Linked DNA regions of Homo sapiens: all the other regions are linked to region 3. The links are contacts of gene promoters, found by promoter capture Hi-C in blood cells and fetal thymus (Javierre and others, 2016). All regions are on one chromosome and are shown on one strand. Each heading gives the region's core, a stretch centred on a gene start or on the middle of the fragment in contact. The rest is flanking DNA. Distances are from core to core; before and after follow the strand shown.

Evidence for each region. Contacts are between HindIII fragments. The CHiCAGO score rates a contact against its expected background, and 5 or more counts as called.
Region 1: a fragment that was not itself captured here is called in contact with the fragment with the promoter of ATP2B3 in region 3 in 1 of 17 cell types (naive CD4 T cells); the score reaches 5.3 in naive CD4 T cells.
Region 2: a fragment that was not itself captured here is called in contact with the fragment with the promoter of ATP2B3 in region 3 in 4 of 17 cell types (M1 macrophages, total B cells, M0 macrophages and 1 more); the score reaches 8.5 in M1 macrophages.

The regions. Positions count from the first base shown.
Region 1 is chrX:153,026,104-153,029,863 of GRCh38, forward strand. It overlaps the pseudogene LOC112268308. Among named protein-coding and RNA genes, the nearest start is that of PNMA3, 28 kb to the right of the region's middle. The HindIII fragment of the contact is 1,319 bases long and covers 1,588-2,906 here.
Region 2 is chrX:153,009,462-153,013,615 of GRCh38, forward strand. No RefSeq gene overlaps it. Among named protein-coding and RNA genes, the nearest start is that of PNMA5, 17 kb to the left of the region's middle. The HindIII fragment of the contact is 1,156 bases long and covers 1,467-2,622 here.
Region 3 is chrX:153,515,598-153,519,784 of GRCh38, forward strand. ATP2B3 (ATPase plasma membrane Ca2+ transporting 3) reads left to right here and starts at 2,045. Exons shown (of 22, transcript NM_001001344.3): 1 at 2,045-2,278; 2 at 2,835-2,954. The HindIII fragment of the contact is 7,787 bases long and covers 934-4,187 here.

The DNA of each region.
Region 1 (3,760 bases), core at 997-3,496, 490 kb before region 3:
AATTGGCATGTCATCACTTCTCTCATGTTCCATTTTCCAAAGCAAGTCTCTAGGCCAGCCTAGATTCCAGAGGTAGGGAAACTGACTCTAACTTGTGATAGAAGGAGTTTTGAAATCATATTACAAATGGAGAACCAGGGACATTAAAAAATCAATCCCAACACTTTGGGAGGTCAAGGCAGGCCAATCACGAGGTCAGGAGATCGAGACCATCCTGACTAACACGGTGAAAACCTGTCTCTACTAAAAATGCAAAAAATTAGCTAGGCGTGGTGGCACGCACCTGTAGTCCCAGCTACTCGGGAGGCTGAGGCAGGAGAATCGCTTGAACCCAGGAGGCGGAGCTTGCAGTGAGCCGAAATCACGCCACTGCACTCCAGCCTGGGTGACAGAGCAAGACTCCATCTCTCTCTCTCTCTCTCCCTCCCTCTCTCCCTCTCTCTCTCTACTCTCTCTCTCTCTCTCTATATATATATAGAGAGAGATTTATATATATATTTTTATATACGTATATATATGTGTGTGTATATATATGTGTATATATATGTGTATATGTGTGTATATGTATATGTATATATATGTGTGTATATATATGTGTATATATATGTGTATATGTGTGTATATGTATATGTATATATATGTGTGTATATATATGTGTATATATATGTGTATATGTGTGTATATGTATATGTATATATGTGTGTATATATATATAAATCTACTACAAGAGTTCACAGGCAAGTCCCTCACCTACACTTTGTCACATGTGGTCTGCTTCTGCCCCTCGTACCCTTACTCTCTTACTCTTCCTGTTGTTCCTATTGGTGGCTGGGGAAGTGACGTGAGGGCAGTGGTGCCTGTGCAGCAGTGCTCAAGGATGCATCAAGGGTTCACTCTCAGGAAACTCCCAAAGCTGCTGGCCAGATGGGTAGCCAGTCCTAGACATGGCAGAGACTGGCTGAGTTTCCCAAATGCCTCTCTTGACCAAGGCCTGCAGAAACAGAAAGTCATATTTTCACATTGGCCAATCCTTGCATTCCTCAGGAAAATGGTTCCAATGTTCCCACTCACATCCTGCTTTTTCTCAGAGCTCAGACCTGGGACCACTGAGCTGGCTGCCACAACCAGCCTCCAATACCCACACCATTCTTGGCCACACCACCCTTTTTCATTCCTGTGCCCTTGTGGTTATTTACTGAAGGCTTACCGTGTGTCTAATAGAAGGTAAAGCTCCATGACTCCCCTGCAAGAAAAATGTTCTTATTGCTCATTTACAGATGAGAAACAGAGATGTTCAGTGGTTTGTGCAAAGCCACCCAGCTGCTAGGTGAAGCCAGCTTTGCCTGCTTCCAAAGGCCGTACACACTCTTTCCAATGCAATGGCTTCCTAGGTGGTGAAGGCTGGCTTTGTAGCCTAAGAACTATGATGAGGCTCTTGAGTCAGGAACAGCTAGCCTCTTCCTGTTGTGGAGATTCCTGCAATGAGGAGGTAGGCCTGTGAATGTAGTGATTTGGGGGACCTAGTCTGGAGTCCTAGTACCTGGCTGTCCACCAACTCCCAGCTTCCAGACGCTGCCCCTAAGCATAAGCTTCCTCTCTGCCAGTTTCCAATCCCCTTTCTCTCTCAACACTTCCACTAGGCCATTTTGATGGTTGGGCCTGTTGCCCCCGGAGGCACATCAAGCCCTTACCGCGCAGGTCCCGATCCCAGGGCAACACGGATGCCTCCCCCTGTTTAGCTATTTGCCTCCCACAGAGACTCTGAGATTTTTCTCCCTCATCTATCTGAGGCTTCTGGGAGAAGTTGGAAGCCCACGTGCCCTTAGTACAGCTGGCCTGAGATATCCCTGCCCTGTGCAGTCCCAGATGGGCTGCTGGGGCGCGATCTTCCACCTTCCCATTCCAGGGCCTCAAGGCGGCCTCCAGAGTGGGCTCCACAGCCTGAAGGTGGCATTTCCCCGTGGGTGGTTGCAGTGTCTGCAGACAGTGAGCAGGCACCAGCGGGACCCCAGAGTGGCTGAGGGCACACTGGGCAGGAGCCAGATCGCTGTCCCCCCAGGCAGTAGGTGCGACAGCGGGTCCTGGTCTGGAGCCTGAGGAGAGGGGAGGAGGGTCTCCTTGCTGCAGGAGTCTGGGTGGGGTGAGCTCCTGGCTGCAGGGCACCTCTGGCTACAGAAGGGGACGATGGGAGAGAGAGGGGCTCTGGCTGTGGGGGAAGGGGACTCCTGGCTGCTGATGTGGGAGGCGTGGGAGGGGGTTGCCAGGTTGCAGGGAGGATGGCATTAGGGAGAGGGCTCCTGGTCAAGTGCTGGGAAAAAGAGGAGGTGGGCACATCCAGCTGCAGGGTTGCACATGATGGTTGGAGGGGCTCCAGCTGTAAGTTTTGTGATCAGGGGCTGTTCACCAGGTGAAAGAGGCGCTTCCTGCTGTGGAGGTGGGGGGTGCAGTGAAGGACTCTGAGCTGCAGCAGTAGGGGTGGGGGAGCATGGGCTGTGACACTGGGCAGGGGAGATGCTTCAGGCCCTGCATTTGGGAGTGGCTGGTCTCTGGCTGTGCGGTGGGGGTGGGCTGACTGGCAGCAACGTCCCTCTCTCCCCTTTGCACTCACAGGCTGCGTCAGAGACTGCAACAGTCAGCACACATTCCTGTCTGATCAGGCTCCCTCCCTCAAGTCCTCTGCGATGGCTCTGGCGATGCTTCGGGACTGGTGCAGGAGGATGGGTGTGAACGCAGAGCGCTCTCTGCTCATCCTGGATATCCCTGACGACTGCGAGGAACATGAGTTCCAGGAGGCCGTGCGGGCTGCCCTGTCGCCCCTGGGCAGGTACCGAGTGCTCATCAAGGTCTTCAGAAAGGAGCTCGGGGCCAGGGCAGCCTTGGTGGAATTCGCTGAGGGTTTAAACCAAAGCTTGATTCCCCGCCAAATAGCAGGCAAAGGGGGACCCTGGAAAGTGATCTCCCTGCCCCAGGCCCTTGATGCTGAGTTTCAGGATATACCCAGTTTCCCTGCATAGCCCCAGGGGCAAGCAGTGGCCAGAGGTGCAGGTGAGGCAGGAGCTGCAGGTGAGGCAGGATCTGTAGGTGAGGCAGGAGGTGTGAATGAGGAAAGATCTGCAGGTGAGGCAGGAGCTGCAGGTGAGGAAGAAGAGGCAGGTGATGGAGGAGCTGCAGGTGCAGCAGGAGCCATAGGTGAAACAGGAGCTGTGGGTAAGGGTGAGGCAGAAGCCACAGGTGAGGGAGGATCTGCAAGTGAGGCAGAAGGTGCAGGTGAGGGAGGAGCTGGAGATGAGTTGAGAGTTGCAGAAGAGGCAAGAGAGTCAGATGAGGGAGCCGCAGGTGATACAGGACCTGCAGGTGAGGCAGGAGCTGTGGGTGAGGCAGGAGCTGTGGGTGAGGCAGGAGCTGCGGGTGAGGCAGGAGCTGTGGGTGAGGCAAGAGGGACAAATGTAACAAGAGCCTGGGTCCAGCCTCGGCGCTGCACCCTGCAGGCTGTGCTGGAAAACAGGGCCTACCAGGAACTGAGACCCTTTTCAGGGAGGGAGCAGCCAGGCTGCGAGGAAGAGTCCTTTGAGAGCTGGATGGAGCACGCCAAGGATATGCTGCAGCTGTGGTACCATGCGTCGGAAAGGGAGAGGAAGAGATGGCTGCTGGAGAGCTTGGGTGGCCCAGCCCTGGACGTTGTGAGCGGCCTCCTAGAGGAAGATCCCAACTTGGCGGCACTGGACTGCCAGGCGCTGCTGGACTGCTGGGCAGCGGTGCT
Region 2 (4,154 bases), core at 795-3,294, 510 kb before region 3:
TTGTATGGGAGACCCTGTCTATATTCTGAGCCACAAGGTAAACAGATAAGTGATTTAAAAATCAAAGAGTTGGACACTGTCAGGTATGTACAATCTTTGGATCTATCTTTAAATGCTGATATGATTTGGATCTGTGTCCTCACCCAAATCTCATGTTGAATTGTAATTCTCAGTGTCAGAGGTGGGGCCTGGTGGGAGGTGATTGGATCATGAGGGTGGTTTTCTCATGAATGGTTTAGCCTCATGGCCCTTGGAACTGTCCTTGTGATAGTGAATTTTTGCACTATCTGGTTGTTTAAAAGTGTGTGGCATATAGCATATGTTACTTGCTATATCATTCTAATTGCCCCTCTAGGAACCAGTAAACATGATTTCTGTTTCACATAGAGACATAACTCTATGGTTAGATTTTCCTAATCTCTGGCCTCTTCAGTAAATTTAACTGATTGTCGTGTATGTCATCCCAAACTGTTTTGGTTTCATGACCATACTGATCCTTTAATCATGCCTGTAACTAACTTTACAGCTGTTCCCAATTTTACCATAGAATATAATGAAAGGCCCTCTTGAGTGACCTATCAAGCAAACGGAGCAATCCTGGACCCTACATCTTCAGTTCCCTGCTTCTTTCTAACTCCTTTGTGGAGGGGTGTGGGATTTGCTCTATACTCTAAGGTTATGAACTGTTCTGAGCCTATTGATTTCACCATAATTAACCAATGGTTTAATTTCTTCTTTTCTTTTTAAATGAAGGCAAGTTTATTAGAAAAGTAAAAGAATAAAAGAATTGCTACTCCACAGACAGAGCAGCCCCAAGGGCTGCTGGTTGCTCATTTTTATGGTTATTTCTTGATGATATGCTAAACAAGGAGTGAATTATTCATGCCTCCCCTTTTTAGACCATATAGGGTAACTTCCTGACATCACCATGGCATTTGTAAACTGTCATGGCGCTGGCAGGAGTGTAGCAGTGAGAATGACCAGAAGTCACTCTCATCACCATCTTGTTTTTGGTGGGTTTGGGCCAGCTTCTTTACTGCAACCTGTTTTATCAGCAAGGTCTTTATGACCTGTATCTTGTGCTGACCTCCTGTCTCATCCTGTGACTTAGAATGTTTAACCATCTGGGAATGCAGCCCAGTAGGTCTCAGCCTCATTTTACCCAGCCCCTATTCAAGATGGAGTTGTTTTGGTTCAAATGCCTCTGACATTTCCCTGCTCCCTTTTACAAGAGAACCCTTAATCCTAAGGGTTGCAAAGGGATGAAAATCCATCTTCTGTAACTTCTTTATGCTGAACAGGGGAGATGATATTCCTACCTAACTACTGGGTCTCTTGCATTCAGGGTAGAGAGGAGTTCGGTTAGAAAGTGTCGGTATGTTGAAGGCCATTCATAACTCTTGAGTTTCAACAAAAGGTGATATCTGGAAGATTAATAAGTGTTCAGTTTAGGGAAACATTCAGTAAGCTTGTCCTGCATTCCTACACAAAGACTATAACAGCAATATATTCAACAACAGGAAAGCAAAATAAGTAAAATTATCTCTAGTAAATTAAATTAGAAAAGGCTTTCCATGAACTGGACAATTGTTGGAACCAAGTTGATATGGGGTTGCTAGCCCATCCCAATATGTGCCCAGAATTAGAATACAGATCCAGATTTTTACATCACCCATCCCTCTTCTTTCTTCTGAATAGCAGTCAGAGGTCACTGGTTTGTTCACAGGAATAAGCAGGGTTAGTCTAAATTGAAGAAAAAAGTCCCAGAACAACTGATGAGACTAGAATCTATTAACATGTGTACCACAGTGTTCGAAAGAGTTTTTCTATCTCCAGTCTCCCATTTTTATTAAAAACAAATCATGGTAAGACCAATTTACTTTCTTATACTTGGCCTGATCATTCATATAAAGTGCAGCAAGAATAATTATTTTTAAATTAGCTTTGATGGAACTCTGTTCCATCGAAAGAATCTCAGATAAGACTTTTTTTCCATTTTTTTTTGACAGAGTCTCGCTCTGTCACCCAGGCTGGAGTGCAGTGGCATGATCTTGGCTCACTGCAACCTCCCCTCCCGGGTTCAAGCAATTCTCCGCCTCAGCCTCCCAAGTAGCTGGGATTACAGGTGCCTGCCACCACACCCAGCTAATTTTTTGTATTTTTAGTAGAGATGGGGTTTCACCATCTTGGCCAGGCAGGTCTTGAACTCCTGACCCCGTGATCTACCCGCCTCCGCCTCTGCCTCCAAAAGTGCTGGGATTATAGGCGTGAGCCCTGAAGACTTTTTTTTTTTTTAAAGCCAAGCCCAGCTGTGGGTTTATACTCTCAAATACTTACGAGTTGGGTAAATTCCTCTTCTCTTGAGGTCCTAAGATAACTGGGGGCACCTGGGCCTGTGAGAAAGTGACATGCTTTACTTACCACGGGTCAGGAACCCTGTACAGGGACTGTATAGACAACCTATGAGGCCAGTTTTCCCAAGGGGCTTTTATTGGCTCTATAAGTCAAGTTTTTTTCCTTAAAGGAAAGCACCCTATTCTCGTCAAAGCCTTGGTAAAATAACCAGTTTCCCCATATGCTCCAAATTGTGTTCATAGGTGTATACTTTACTTAATTGTTAAAAGCTTTAAATAGCTCAAAAGTTTCCTTGACTCTGGAAAACAAAACAAAGGATCAGCAACATTTTAAGCAAACAGCCAAGATTACTTCAAACTTCTATTAGCGCAATACATGCAGTTAGCTCCTGTCCTGTTTGATATTCATGAACATTTCAGCTGTCCATGAGTCCTGAAAGTTTTTCCTCTATCTGAATGTCACACTCTCCAAAGTTATCAGAAAACCTGCATTTAATAACACTTGTTAGGGTTCTATAGGTGATTATAAAACCACCTTCTGAAGAGTATTAAAACAAGATAACAATTGTCTGTGGATGACAAAATTTTAGGACAGCCACTATTAAAGCCACAATGGACAAAAAAATTTTGATTACCTCTGTGGTATACAACAATTTTACATAGCAATTATAACTATTGATAACACACACTAAGTTATATCAGAATTATAGGAGCTTCCATAATTTTGGAATACATGCCAATAACATATTTATACAAACACAGCCCAAAGAAGGCCAAACACCATTTCATATTTGACAATGCTTCCTGTATGACTTTTATACCAAATAAGCCAAAAGTCACTTTTGGACTTTAGGTGACCTAATATCTAAAAGATTAATTAGGTCAGAAAAAGACATATTTTATAATTTGATTTTGGGAAGCTTGTCAAATATCAAAGGTTTAAAACACTAGATATCACAAAATAGAATCCCAGGTGACCATAAGTCATTCATTTTGCCAAAATAATAACTTAAAAAATTTTTAAAAGGCAAAACCCCTTACTCATGAAGAGGGAAGACCTAGCTTTCCAAACAATGTCTCTTTTCTTTCCCCTCTTTTCCTGTAGTTTATTTAAAAGGCAAACAAAAATCTTTCATTATTTTTTAATAAAACATGAAAATCCTGTTCAAGAGAGAAAGCCACATTTCACCCTTTCCATTAATGCACTATTGATGTTAAACCCAATTCTTAATAAAACCTTATACACAAATCTATCCAATTTTAAAGTCTCATCATAAAGTAAGATTCTTATAAACCCTTGAAAAATTTTTGTTAAAGAGCAGATGAGTGCTTTATGAAAAGCCTGTTGTGCTTTTATTCCAATGTTCAATTTACAGAAAAACTGAATACCCTTTAATGTTAGCCAATATGTTCACACACAGAATTTCTTTTACAAGATTAATTTTTCACAAACCTTCCACAACTTGCTCAAATCTTCAGCTTTTTCCTACCTAACTTAAAACAATCCTTTAACCTTCTAAAAAAAATCCACATTCTCATGCCTTCTTTTAATCTTTTACCAAAAACACATTTCACTTTCCTTACACACCTTGCTTGTAAAACTGTTTTTATTTCCCCAAAATTACTAAAGTAATGTGAACTAAAAGGCATTATGCTTTTTATTTTTCTGATAAAATATTTAAGCACTATTTTTAAGCCAATTAATCAAAGCTCTTTCATAAACATCACACACACAACACATATAAATACACAGACAGAAGAATAACCAGTAGTTGTTAAGATTTTTCATTTGCCAGTTTC
Region 3 (4,187 bases), core at 795-3,294:
GAAGGAACGTGGCCTGAATGCGCTGGGGAAAGGAGCTCCTCTGCCCTCCTGTGGTGCCTGAGGGCATGGGGGCAGCTGGCCTCCCGGCCAGGGGCCAAAGTCCAGCTTACAACCTGCTCCGGGTGGGATCCAGTGCCCTCTGGGCCTCCACTTCCCCATCTGGAATGTGGGCTAGTAAGAGGAACGACTCCAAGATGGCAGGGCTCTGGCGAAATGGCCAGAACTTAGCTCATGATAAGTTTCCAGCATCATTGGGGCTTGCTTCAGTCTTGATTTTTCCCATTCGGGGCCATGGGAAGTCACAGGCTGTGTGTGTGTGAGAAGGGGGTGTCCCCATGGCGGCTCTGGGCCCGGAGGAGCACACGCCCCAGGCTCAGGAAAAGCTGCCTCAGAGTTGGAGTGGAAGGGGACTGCGGGAGTGTGCAAATGAATATGTGTGAGAGTGTGAGTGGGGAGTGTGTGTGTGAGTGTGACTGTGAGTAACTGTGTGTGAGTGTGTGTGTATGTATGTGCCCATGTGTGTGCTCACTGGGTAAGTGTGTGAGTTGTGTAGGTGTGAGAGCATGTAAATATGTGTGAACCATTGTGTAACTGTGTGGGCCACCGAGCTTGTGTGGGTGAGGGTGAGTGAGCACATATGACTGTGAGGATGTGTCTGCGTGAGATTGTGAGTGTGTGCATGAGTGTGTGAGTGTGTGTTTGTGTAAGTAGGTGAGTGAGCATGAGTTCATGCATATGAGCAGGTGTGAGTATGTGTGCGTGCATGTGAGTGGGTGTGAGTAAGCATGTGTGAGCGCACACATGACCAGGTGTATGAGTGTGTGTGTGCGTGCGTGCGCGAACCTCAGCTTTCCACGGCACCAGCTGCTTCCTGTGGAAGGGAGGGGCAGTCTGTGGGGGTTGTGACGGTTCCCTGGTCTCAGGGGCAGCAGAAGCTTTCTGTCCTTTTGGTCCCTAGCACAGTGGTGCCTCCTCAAAGAGGCCTTCCCTGAGCCGCCAGCAGCCTCTTTCATGGCTCCCCATCAATGGGGTTCCATAGCTCCGACCCCAGCGGCGTGAGCACATTTGCCATCCGACGGCCACTCCCTGCTTTGTGGTCCCTGCTGTGTCCCCAGTATTCAGCTCTGGTCTGGCACACAGCATGTCCAGGGCCCTCTTTGTCCAAGGCAAGAAAGAATTTGAGGCTGCGTCCAGGCCTCTTGCACCTGCCTCAGGCTCCCGCCCAGAGCCTCTACCTGTGCCCCAGCGAGCATTCTCTGCTCGCTGCTCAGAATGCTCGCAAAGGCCGGCCCTGGGGTCAGAGGCCTCCACAGCCCCTGGAGCTGGGAAGCCTGGGGGTCCACCGGCAGGCACGGGGGTCTCTTTCCAGGTAGGTGGGAACGCGTGCTTGTGGGTGTGGACAGGTGTCTGCACTGGGGTTTGTCTGTGTGTCTGTCTCCACTCACACCGGGGATGTATGTGCCCCTGCGTGTCTGTCTCTGGTGCCCACCTGTGTGCAGTCTCTGTGTTCTGCCTAACGGTGGTGTTCCCGTGATAACCGACGGTGAGGATCTCCGGTAAGCGCCGCTTCCTCTGGGAAGACGCATTTGGACGCCCGTACTCTCAACAGGTAATGGAGTTTGCAGGAGACCACCAATGCCTTGGAGTCCACTGAGGCAAGACCCAAGGACCCCACGCTACACATCAGCCACCCGGCTCTGTGCCCCATTTTACTGTTGGGGAGACGCACCTAGAGGGCAGGGTCTGGAGAGGTAGTGGCAGCCTCAGTCGCAAGCTCAGGGTGCTCTCTCTGCACTCACAGGTGCCATGGTCCCCCAGTTTCCATCCCCACCCACCCCCACTCGGCCAGTGCCCTTTGGGGGCAATGCCAGGCCAGGAAGGGCGGGCACCCTCGCGCGTCCTGGGGACAGAAGGGCGCGCACCGGGCGCGTAGCTCCTGAGCCCCGAGGCCCCTGCGCCGCGCACCGCCCCCCGCGCCCGCTCCCTCCTCCCTCCCTCCTCCTCACCCAGCTCCCTCCCCTCCCCCCTCCCTCCCTCCGCGCTCAGAGCTGCGGTTGGAGCCGAGCGCGCCGCGTCGCCCGCCGCCGGTGCAGAGCGTGGGGAGCACTCGGCCGCAGCCCTCGCCCGCCGCAGAGGGTCGCGTCCCGCGCCGCCGGCCAGGCCGCCCCGTGCCCAGGCCTTTCCATCCTTGGAGCGGATCGTTGCCCGCCTGACGCCCGCCCGCAGCGACAGCGCCCGCCGGAGCCGAGGCCGCGGCGGCGGCCGTGCCCATGCCCGGGTAAGTGGTGCTCTGGGCGCGCGGGCGCCGCCGGGGTGGGCGCGGGCGCGGCGCGGGCACAAGGCGCGGGTGGGGATGGGAGGATGACCCGGCAGGTGGTGCGGCGGCAGGTAGGGGGACACGGGTCCCCGCCCGAGGCACCTGAGCCCCGCGCCGGGCCTGCGTGTCCTTGCGGCACTGCGGCCGCGCGTCACCCCGGGGCCCCAGGCCGGCGGGCAGCGCCCCGCACCCTGCACCCTGCGCCCCGCATCGCGCGCGCACGCGCATCCGTGTCTGAGGAACAAGGCCCTTGGGGGCTGCGGGCCGGGGCTCAGGGTGGGCGCAGCCGGGGGCGCGGGATCTGGGCCGGGAGCCCGCCAGTGCGCACGCACCTTCCCGGAGCCTCGGGCACCCCCTCCCCCCCGCGCCCTCACACTGTATCATCCTTCCCCTCTCGCCTTCCCGCACCGTTCCCCGCACGCCCACGCGGCTGCCCAGCAGACCCCACCGCGGTCATGGGCAGTGCCCACGAGAAGCCGCCCGGGGCCGCACTTAGGTAACTTCTCCATCCCTCCAGGAACGGCTGTCTCCCCCTCCTCGCCTGTGTGACCTTGGCCAGCCAGCTTTTCCTGTGGCCGCCTGCGTTTTCTCACGGGTGAAAGCTCTGGCTTTAAGATTCTGGAATTTGGAATGGCAGGTGCGGCATCTCCCAGAGCCTGAGACGATGGGCTTCTCTCTCTGTGACCTGGTGTCCTTCCTTCTGCTGGCCCTTCTGGGGGTTGGTGGCTCAGCCAGCCGGCTGAGGAGGGGTGGGAGGCAGGGCAGGGGCATGGCGCCGGGGCAGGTCAGGACTGGAGGGAGTCTTGGAGAGCCCGCGGTGAGGGCTCCATGAGGGTTTAGGAGAGACTGTGGAAATGCTCCTTCGCTCACTCAAGGGGCAGGGAAGGGACCAGAATTCCTCAACGAGATGCTTGCCATTTCCTGGCGAGGTCATATAACTTTCAAAGATGAAGCCCAGGGCCTCCGACCTCAAAGGAGTCCCTGCCTGCTAAAGGATCAAGTCCAGCCTGTCCCCAACTGGCCCCCATCCTGAATTCCACTGGCACCCTAAACGTCAGCCGACTTCCCCTGGCTGACTTGGGCACCAGTCTGGCAGGCACCCCCTGCACCTCCTCCCCTCCTTTGCCCACTAGGATCTGTGCCCTCACCCCCTGCCATTGCCCCTCACTAGTCAGTGACCATCTTAAGGCAAGGACTGGCTCTTCATTTGCACAGGCCTGGCACAGAGTGGGCACCTGGTTTCTGCATGGCATATTCATGACCTTGACCTCACTGAATCTGCAGACTCACTGAACAGGAGAGGCAAGGCCTGGATTTTTGTCCCCATTTTTCAGATGGGATCATTGAGGCCCCCAAGAGGAGAAGGGATTCAGCCCTGAATTGAGGCCCCTTCCTTCATGAGCAGATGGCTAGGGACATTCCTATGAACCTGGTGGGGCAGGGAGGCGGGGAGAGGTTATCGTAATAATCAAAGACCAGCCCCACTTCCTGAGCTCCATCTGAGTCTCACCTCAACCACACGAGTGAATGGCTGTTTTCATCCCCAACCCCCACCCCCCGCCGCCACTTTTCACAGATGAGGAAACCGAAGCCATGTGGCTCATTAAAGGGGCACTGGGATGCCGAGGAGAGGGCTGGGGATGCCTGGGCCCCTGTGGGACACAGCTGAGACCCAGCAGAGGGTCCCAGGGTGAGGTCAGCCCCTCAAGTCTGCGCCATCGGAACGGGCTGGGAACTTGTGGTCCCCGGCCATTGATTGTCACTGCTGCAGGCCCCGAGGCGGGGGACAGCCAAGGACACAGCCAGTCTCCATCAGCTCCACCTGGGCCGTGCCCTGCACGGCCAGGTGGTTTGAGTGCAGGAGTAGGCA